Linked DNA regions of Homo sapiens: region 2 is linked to region 1. Evidence: promoter capture Hi-C in 16 types of primary human blood cells and fetal thymus (Javierre and others, 2016). All regions are on one chromosome and are shown on one strand. Each heading gives the region's core, a stretch centred on a gene start or on the middle of the fragment in contact. The rest is flanking DNA. Distances are from core to core; before and after follow the strand shown.

Region 1 (4,671 bases), core at 851-3,350:
GGCTGTAACCAAGAGAGTCTACATCTGGGTAGTCATGCCTTTTGATGATCATACTTCCATGTATTTCAATGACTTGTCAAAGACACACGTTTGAAACACTCGATCCTGTGCCTCCTTCAAAGGAAGTTTAAATAAATATACCTGTAGTAGGAAAATTCCGTTTTTCTAGCATTAGAACACATTATGGTGAAAATTTTTGTGAGCTTAAAATGTGCCCATCACTTAGGCCTAACACATGAATATACTTAGGCCTAAGAGGAGGAAACATTCTAAGAGAAAGTACTTATACATGGGCAACAAAGTAATATGACAGCTATTATGGAAACAATCCTTCTGAATTTCCTAACTTTCATGCCCACAAATTGACAACCACTTGTGTTTATTTTTCTTTTAAAATAATATTTTAAAATCTATGTCCATGATTAATACTCTCTTTTTTGACACTAAATTGAGTATTAGAGTTATCAACTCAAATTCTATTAGAGTATTAATAATCAACGTTACACTAGGTCATAAAATACATGTGTAATAAACATAATAAGCTTGGGTGTTGTTAATATTGTTGAACATTTACACAACTCTGTCCTGACTATTCTCTATGTAATCAGGTATCATGAAGTTTTTCAACTGACATTTTACTACTAATGAGAAACAAATTAGGAAGATGAGTGATGGGAAGAAAAGATGAACATGATTAATAGGTGCTTGTTTCATAAAGACTCTAGGGAGACTTTTAAATCCTTCACTGCTACTATATTCTCACCGAGTGAGGAGCCACTGCACGTGCCTTTTAAAGCTTTCAAAGGAGGGCTGAGTAGTTACTCAATCTGTTACTGATGCTTACTCCATTTGCATCCTGTTGTGAAATGAGGTACACTTTATGTATTGGTGCCAAGGTAAATGTCAACTGTATCCATCAAAAATTTTTAAAACAGACATCTAAGTTAGAAAAAGAAAATAATGTTTCACTTTGGGTCTAATGTTGCAAATAATCGCTCCTGAAGACTAAAACATCTTTGTTGTTCCGCATCCCTTCCCTCCACCCTTCAAGAACTTGCATTTTTTAACTTTTCAAGTGCTTTTGATTAAAAATACCTAATCTACTTTGCTTCACGGGTTTTTTAAAGAATCATTCTTGTTCTCTAAACCAACTTCGTAGAAATAGAGAGGAAGTTAAACTTTATACAGTATTTGAATCTTTAAAGGTATGAGCATCCTAAACAGTAACTCACTTCTAATAAAGATCTTGCCATTCCTAACTGTACTTTACTAAGGTAGCTGTTTAATAAAAACGTATTTATGCAGATTCTATAGAGCAACTAAAACGGGACCCATAGATGTGGTGAGTAGCACAAAATGTGTATGGCAGTTGGCTTTATTTGCAGCGGCATATAAAATTGTTAATAATCCTGTCAAATCTGTTCATGAATAATTTATTAATCCGATTGCTGGAGTGCAGTGCATACAGGAACTCTATGTATGCGTGCATGTGTACACACCCCCCATGCAGGAAGGACACTACTGCCGTATTCCAGAAATGACAAAAAAAAAAAAGTAAAAATAAGCAAGAATCACATAATTAGATGTCTTACAGTCTCATAAAAGGGCAGTGCTGCGAGGTTAAGCTGGTGAGCTAAAAAACAAACAAAACAAACAAAAAACCACAAAAGCAAAATCCAGTTGCCTGAGATCGGAGCTTCCCGCAGGATTCGCGCAGAGCGAGGAGCGGGGAGGACGCCGTTTGCGGGAGGCGGGGGCCGGGATCCCGACACCGTCCGCAGTCTCCCCGGGGTCTCTCAGGGAACCGAGCTGGTGGCCGTCCGAGGTAAGCGCCGAACCAAGGAGAAAGCGCCGAGCGCGTCCACAAAACGCCCGAGGCCGCCCTTCTCGCCAAGGCTCGGCAGCTCCCGCGGCCTGCGCTGGACAAGCGAGAGCTGGACGGAAACGGTGGGAGGCCGTAGGCGGCGGCTGGGGGCGCGGGACCCGCGCGCGGGCGCGGAGGCGGGCGGGGAGGCCCCGCAGCCCGCGCCGCCGCCAGCCGCCCCGAGCCGCGTGCGCGCGCGGCCGCATCAGCTGAGCGCGCGGCGCGTGTCACGTGGTGTGCGTGTCGAAGGTCACGGCGCGCTCACAATGGAGCTCTCGGAGTCTGTGCAGAAAGGCTTCCAGATGCTGGCGGATCCCCGCTCCTTCGACTCCAACGCCTTCACGCTTCTCCTCCGGGCGGCATTCCAGAGTCTGCTGGACGCCCAGGCGGACGAGGCCGTGTTAGGTAAGCCGCTCGGCTCGGCTCGGAGCTGGATCCGCCGGGGTGGAGGGGCGCTCGGAGAAGAGGAGCCGGCGGAGCGAGAAGGGGAAAGCCCCGGGAAGAGGAAGTCTCCGGGCTTTGCCCTTCGCTCCGGACGGAGTGTTGGGGACGTGGCTCTGCCAGGACTCGGAGCAGACTCTGAGCATTGTTTTGGCCCCACTTGGCACCTGCATAGAGCCAACTCCACGTTCCTGGCCCGGTTTCCCTCCCAGTCTCTTTGTTCTTTTGTAAAGCCGGTGTTCAAGTCTTGTTTGTGGCCTAAACATCTAAGGTGTTTAGCCTTGTCTGAGGCTGCGGCTGTTTTGACAGTTGGACTTCATCTGGGGAGCTCCCTGCAATTCAAGCTTCCAGGGCTAGGCTAGCAAAGGTTTAAGGGTCTGTTTCCGAAGTAATTACTAGGTCAGACAGTGTTGACATTTGCCAACTTAGAGCATACCTCAAGTTGCTATGATCACTCCAGCGCTCTAGTTCAGCATGTTTACACAGGTTCTACGCCTAGAACCTTAAACTATGATGCACAATACTTTGTTCCGCCCCAGTTACCAGGATGCGAGTGTCTTTTAAGCGATCCGGTCAGTGACTGCGGAGGTGCAGTGTCAGTATGGATTGAAGACATATTTTAAGACCGATCGCTTTTAGATGATTTTCTTAAATATAAATATCCCAACAATTCAAATTTTTGTTTTTTTTCTGTAGTTTCATGAACTAAACACTTGTACAAAAAGTATGAAAGTGGAAGTTCTTAAACGAAAATAGTAACCACCACCTGGGTTAATCTCAAAAAAAAAATGACTGTCAAACCCTGAAAGTACTAATATAATTTTGAAATTTGTATCTTATATTCTGAACTCATGCCCTACCTTCTACCCCCTTGATGTATTTGTTCATGGAGCCGGTTACCCTAAACTCATCATTTTTAGGATGGAAGTTTATTCTAAAATTGACACAATGTAAAATATTTATCTTGTTTTTCCTTTGAATTTACTCCAGTGTTAGAATGACCATTGCATTGTTATATTTTCTTTGGGGGCTATAATATTTTTTAATAGTAAAAATATTAAGGCAAAATAAGTTAATTGAAGCTAGTAATAGTAGAGTTCTTGTTGTGTTCTTTTTATTGTTTTTCACTTGATCTTGTTGCTCATCTCATTTACTTATAATTGACTGTCCTTATAGTTGATGTTTTTAATCTTGTTAAAGGGTTTTTAAACCCAAATTAAAATATCCTTTTTGGAACATGACTGTAAAGAATTTATTATCATAGGCATCACTGGAAGTTAATTTATTTTAGATCATCCAGACTTGAAACATATCGACCCAGTGGTTTTAAAACATTGTCATGCAGCAGCTGCAACTTACATACTAGAGGCAGGAAAGCACCGAGCTGACAAGTCAACTCTAAGGTACAGGATTTATTTAAATATCCATTTATTTTCAAATACTACCTTAATGATTTCAATTTCAGTTTTAAAAATGGAGACAGAACTTTGGCTTTTTTTTTCTTTCTTCTAGCACTTATCTAGAAGACTGTAAATTTGACAGAGAGCGAATAGAACTGTTTTGCACGGAATATCAGGTTACTTACTTTAAAATTTTTAATTAACAGTACTATTTTTCTTTTACTTTGTTTGTAAAGATGTTTTTTTTTCTTTCTTTCTTGCTTTCTTTTTTCTCTCCAGAATAATAAGAATTCCCTAGAAATCCTACTGGGAAGGTAGGTACTGTATAAGGTGTCAAGCTGAGGCACTTTTCACTTGCAGGTATGAATGGAGAGTGTTGGTGTGAAACAAGATCTTCGGGATCTTGACCCAAAGAAAAGGAGCCAAAGGGCATGTCAAGCAATTGAAGTTAAGCTCATGTTTTTAAAGATCGTTTATTGAGATGATTTTGAAATGCTCCTTTACCATTCATAATTTAAAAATAAAGTTTAACAATGGTTTAAATTCAGAATGGATTAAAATGGAGTTGGGGGTGGAAAGTAGAGCCATTCTTAGTAAATATAAATAACTGAAAAGTTCTTCTGAGGAGACTATGTACGAAGTTATCATTGCATCTTTCAGTATAGGCAGATCTCTCCCTCATATAACGGATGTTTCTTGGCGCTTGGAATATCAGATAAAGGTAAAGTTTAAGAAACTTCTCTAGCGGGGGATTTAGGGAACTTCTTAAAACCTAGAGTTAAAAGCTGTTGCGTGTTTGTTGTGTTATTTTAGACCAATCAACTTCATAGGATGTACAGACCTGCATATTTGGTGACCTTAAGTGTACAGGTATTTATAGATAAGTCTTATCCAATAATGAAATTTATAATTTCATTGATTTAAATAAACAGCGTTTCTTGTTGCGTGTTTTTTTTCCTGCCCTAG
Region 2 (4,671 bases), core at 841-3,340, 390 kb after region 1:
GGGGACGGGGCAGAGTGCAGGGAGGAAATCAAGAGGCCTGCTTGGGACATCTGAGATGTCTATTAGTTATTCATGTGAAGATACCTGGTAAGAAACTGCATATAGAGCCCAAGAGGAAAGTTAGAGCTGAAGTTAAAAATTTCTCAATCATGACTGTAAAATGGTATAAAAAGCCATGAGACTAAATGAAATCATGTAGGTAAAGTAAATGTAATTGTAGAAGATGATCCTGGACACAGGCCTGGGGCATTCCAACATTTCCAGACTGAGCAAAAGAGGAGCCTGCACCTAAGGAGTGGCTAGTGAAGCAGAAGGAAAACAAGAGACAAAAAAAAAGGAGCCCCCTGCATTTGAAAATGTTAGCACTGCCAGTGATGCTGACTTGAGCAGTTTCCTAGGTGTGCTGGAGGTGAAAGCTAGATTGGGGTAAGTTAAGGAGATCATCGCAGGTAAGTTGACGGTTGCCAGGTACGGTGTCTCTATAGAAATAGGAGACCTCAGCTTTAGACAAGGCTTTTCACTCCTGCTATGAAAAGGAACAGGGCAGGTGTGGTAGCTCACATGTATAATCCCAGCACTTAGGGAGTCTGAAGCAGGACTGCTTGAGACCAGGAGTTTGAGGCAGCAGTGAGCCATGATTGCACCATGCACTCCAGCCCAGGCCAAAAAGCAAGACCTCATCTGAAAAAAAAAAAAAAAAAAAAGGAACAGAAAACACGAGAAGACACTAAAATGAGAGACTAAGGGTGAAGGAGAGCTTCTGCTGTTACTGTAGTTTATTTTGCTTTCAAGATGGGCGGCCCCGGAATGGTGAGCCATGTCAGTGGAAGACACTGCAATGGTGGGAATCGTCTATATCTGCACTGTTCAATCCAGTAACCACTAACCACATGTGGCTAGTGAGCACTTGATATGAGAAACTGAATTTTAAGTTTTATTAGCTGAAATTTAAATTGCCATATATAGCTAGCAGCTACAAAACCAGGCAGGGCAGCCCCTCCAGCATGTCTGTAGACTGACGGACCCAGCTGTCCAAAATTTAGATGGGATGGTGGGAAGAGTGGAAGCTGACGGCTTCTATTTGTTCAATGCTTTCTAAATGAGGTTATATGCTGAGGGAAGGACGGGGTGGGGGAAGTGGGGGACAGGACACTAGGTGAAGTTCAAGGAGAAGTGAAAAGGAAGAAATGACTTCAGAGAGTGGAGAACATATTAAAGGAGGCAGTAACACTTCCGGGTCGAGTGTCATTTGAGATTTGTGGCAAATTTTAAAGTAACCCTGGTCAGAACTGCTGGCTTTTCTCTGGCAAACATCAACCACTTGGCCCTTCAAAGGTGGCCTCAAACTACTCTTTCAACCATCTCCTGACACTCCCTTTATGTTCCTCTGTGGTTTTCAATTTTCTTGGCTGCAGGATCTTTTTTACCCCCTTTACGTATTATATTCAGTACCCCAGTTAAAAAAAAAAAAAAAAAAAAAAAAAAAAAAAAAAAAGGACAGAGAGATGACAATGAGGACAAAAACAAGGCTGTTCTGGAGGAAACTGAGGTAGGCCTAAATTCCCCCACCAGCTTGGCCCCCTCCCACCAGCCCCTGAGGCACATCTAAGGAATCTCAGGGCTTGAAACCAAAGATTTACCCTGATGGGTGTTTCTCAGACTTAAATATGCTGACGATCAACATGTCTTGTTAAAATGTACATTCTGCTCCAGCAGGTCTGCAGAGGCCCAAGCTCTGCATTTCTAACATGTTACTGGGTTCTGCCACTGTGGCCACACCCAAAGCCAACTACTCACATTCTCCGCTCTGCTTGGTTTTGCCCGCTGTCGGACCCTCAGCTGCATATGCCTTTCCCCATTGTATTAGTCTGTTCTCACGCTGCTGTGAAGAAATACCCAAGACTGGGTAATTTATAAAGGAAAGAGGTTTAACTGACTCAGTTCTGCAGGGCTGGGGAGACCTCAAGAAACTTACGATCATGGCAGAAGGGGAAGCAAACACATCCTTCTTCACATGGCAGCAGCAAGCAGAAGAATGAACACCCAGCAAAAGGAGAAGCTCCTTATTTAAAATCATTAGGTCTCGTGAGAACTAACTATCACGAGAATACGATGGGGAAAACTGCCCCCATGATTCAATTATCTCCAGCTGATCCACCCACAACACCTGGGGATTATGGGTACAATTCAAGATTAGATTTGAGTGGGGACACAGCCAAACCATATCACCCATCTTCTGCAGCTGGGAGATTCTATCTAATCCTCAAGGTCCTCCTCATTGTTACCTCCTCTCAAGGATTCTCCAAGTCCCCCAGGCAGAAGTAATCATGATCCAGTCCTGGTTAGCACCTTGGCAGATCTCCTACCACTATATCCCCCTCTTGCTGTGCTCCAGCCATGCCAGCTTTCCTGCAGTTGCCATAACAAGCCAAGCAAACACCAGCCTCACGGCCTTTGCACCAGCTGACCCCTCCGCCTGAAATGCTCTTCTCCCAAACTGCCTCATGTCTAAGCCCTTCACCGACGTCATGCCTTTGCTCAATGTTCTGCACGGTCTATTTAATACCTTCCACCCCTAGCATTCTGGACACTGTAGTTATTTACACATATATTTATTTTACGTCTGTGTCCCCTGTAGTTATGCACAATTTGAGAGCAAGGTCCACAATATATTCATTTTGCATCTGAAGCATCTTGCAGTGTCTCCATATTTAAAGACAAGGTGAAATATCAAGTCAATAGCTGACATAACTTGCAACTAATGGATGTGAATTAGATTTCTGACACTTCAAAGAACCTAATCGCTAGTGGAAGTGTGAAAAATACAAGAAAGAACATAACAAAATAGATACAGAAAGCAAAGCAAGGGCACAAGGGTAATTCTAAAATGATAATTCATAACTCAAAAATACACAAGGATGCCAAGAACAACGATGATGTTCTACTACAAAACAGGATAAAGTAACCATTGATTTAGCATACAATCTGATAATTTGCTACCTCTTAGCATTTAAGATATTAAAAAAAAAAATAGGATAGGCATGGTGGCTCAAGGCTCTATTTCCAGCACTTTGGGAGGCTGAGGTGAGAGGATTGCTTGAGGTCAGAAGTTTGAGACCAGCCTGGCCAATACAGCAAGACCCTGTCTCTATTTTAAAGGATAGTAATAATGACAGCTAGCACATTAAGAACTTACCATGTGCCAGCAACTATTTAGGCATCTTACAAGTATGAATTGATTTAATCCATATAACAAACTTCCAAAGTAGGTACCATTATTACCTCCTTTTATAATCAAGGAACTGAGAGGCAAAATAACTTGTTCAAGGTCACATAGCCAACCGAACAAGGACTCCAGAGCTCTTAATCACTGTGCCCAGGTAGCTGAAAAACTATAAAGATTTAGAATTGTGAGGCTTAGCTTTAGGTAAGTTACTGTTTTAAAACTCCCTACAACATTTTTCTTAAATAAATTATGTACTGGTTCTCTCCCTACATGCTCTGAACATTAACAATGATTTTCTTTCTATGAAGGGAAAAACTGGTTTTCAAGTAGTTTTCTCCCATGTTAACAGCTAATACTCTGTCCATCCAAGAAGAACAGCTCTTAAGACTAAGAAAATAAAAGAACTCAAAGAAATGAATGATTCCTGAGCTTGGCCCAGGCAGCACAGCTCAGTGGTTAACGGTACCGTTGTGAATCCCAAGTACTAGGCACTGTGACCCAGGCGGGTAATCAATTCAGCCTATGCGTGTTCCCCCCCAAGAATTCTTCCTGGCTGCTGCGTGCTCTCCCCACTTTCTCACCCCACACTATCCCCATCTTATTCTTGCAAGGGTTCTTGATGGGGTTCCATGAACTCCCAAGTGGTCCATGGATAGAATTAAAAGGATCCTTGAACTTGCTAGGACATATCCTCTGTATTTTCATTTATTCCTTTAAAAGCCTCATTCTGAGGAGTCTATGGCCTTCACTGGACTGCCATAGGAGTTCCTAGTACAAAAAAGAAAAGAAATGAGGATAAAGGCAGACACAGGGAAATAAGCTAGGGGGGTTTAATATCAGTCTAGGAAAGAGGGAAACAAATCTGGTTAGGAGTGACAGAAGTGAGAATGGAAACGAAGAGACGGATTCAAGGAAACTCCCCAGGGATTCCTAACAAAATGGCATCTTTCACCTTCCTTCTACTTACCTTCCAAAAAAGAGGAATTGCCTCTACTTCCACTCATTCACTCCTTAAGTCTTTAAGCTTTCACAGCCACCCGCAATCAACCACAAGCACAGCCATGACTTTCAAGCACTTGGGAACATCTAATTGTGCCGACCTCTGTTTTCTCCTCCTGTTTCTTCTTCCTCTGTCCTTCCCTCAAAGCCAAGTGTCCCCAGTGTCCCTGCTCCTCCGGTGGAGATCTGACTTACCGATTCTGTACGGGCAGGTCTCAATGGTCTATCCCAGCCCTAGTGGCTCCCGAGCTCCAATCACACCTTTCCAGCATCCTACATGGTACTGTAACTGCAGGATCCACCCACCACCATCACCTGCAATTCCACATTCTTAAATCTAAATTGCTTGTGTCCCTTTCCAACCTACAATTTCTTCTCCCAAATTCTCTAATCTATCATGGGGCCACCATTCTTCTAAGGGCTCATCACATACAGTTGGGGCTGGG

The links. The method cuts DNA at HindIII sites, captures the fragments that hold promoters and counts their contacts. A CHiCAGO score of 5 or more calls a contact.
Region 2: a fragment that was not itself captured here is called in contact with the fragment with the promoter of COMMD3 in region 1 in 1 of 17 cell types (neutrophils); the score reaches 5.3 in neutrophils.

The regions. Positions count from the first base shown.
Region 1 is chr10:22,314,288-22,318,958 of GRCh38, forward strand. COMMD3 (COMM domain containing 3) reads left to right here and starts at 2,101. Exons shown (of 8, transcript NM_012071.4): 1 at 2,101-2,269; 2 at 3,597-3,708; 3 at 3,818-3,881; 4 at 3,985-4,019; 5 at 4,366-4,426; 6 at 4,519-4,575. The coding sequence starts at 2,131. It overlaps COMMD3-BMI1 (COMMD3-BMI1 readthrough), which reads left to right and starts at 2,101. Exons shown (of 14, transcript NM_001204062.2): 1 at 2,101-2,269; 2 at 3,597-3,708; 3 at 3,818-3,881; 4 at 3,985-4,019. The coding sequence starts at 2,131. RefSeq lists a silencer at 1,959-2,078 and an enhancer at 2,349-2,648. The HindIII fragment of the contact is 1,853 bases long and covers 795-2,647 here.
Region 2 is chr10:22,703,968-22,708,638 of GRCh38, forward strand. All of the region lies in intron 1 of PIP4K2A (phosphatidylinositol-5-phosphate 4-kinase type 2 alpha), which reads right to left. Among named protein-coding and RNA genes, the nearest start is that of PIP4K2A, 8.3 kb to the right of the region's middle. RefSeq lists an enhancer at 409-468. The HindIII fragment of the contact is 4,316 bases long and covers 1-4,248 here.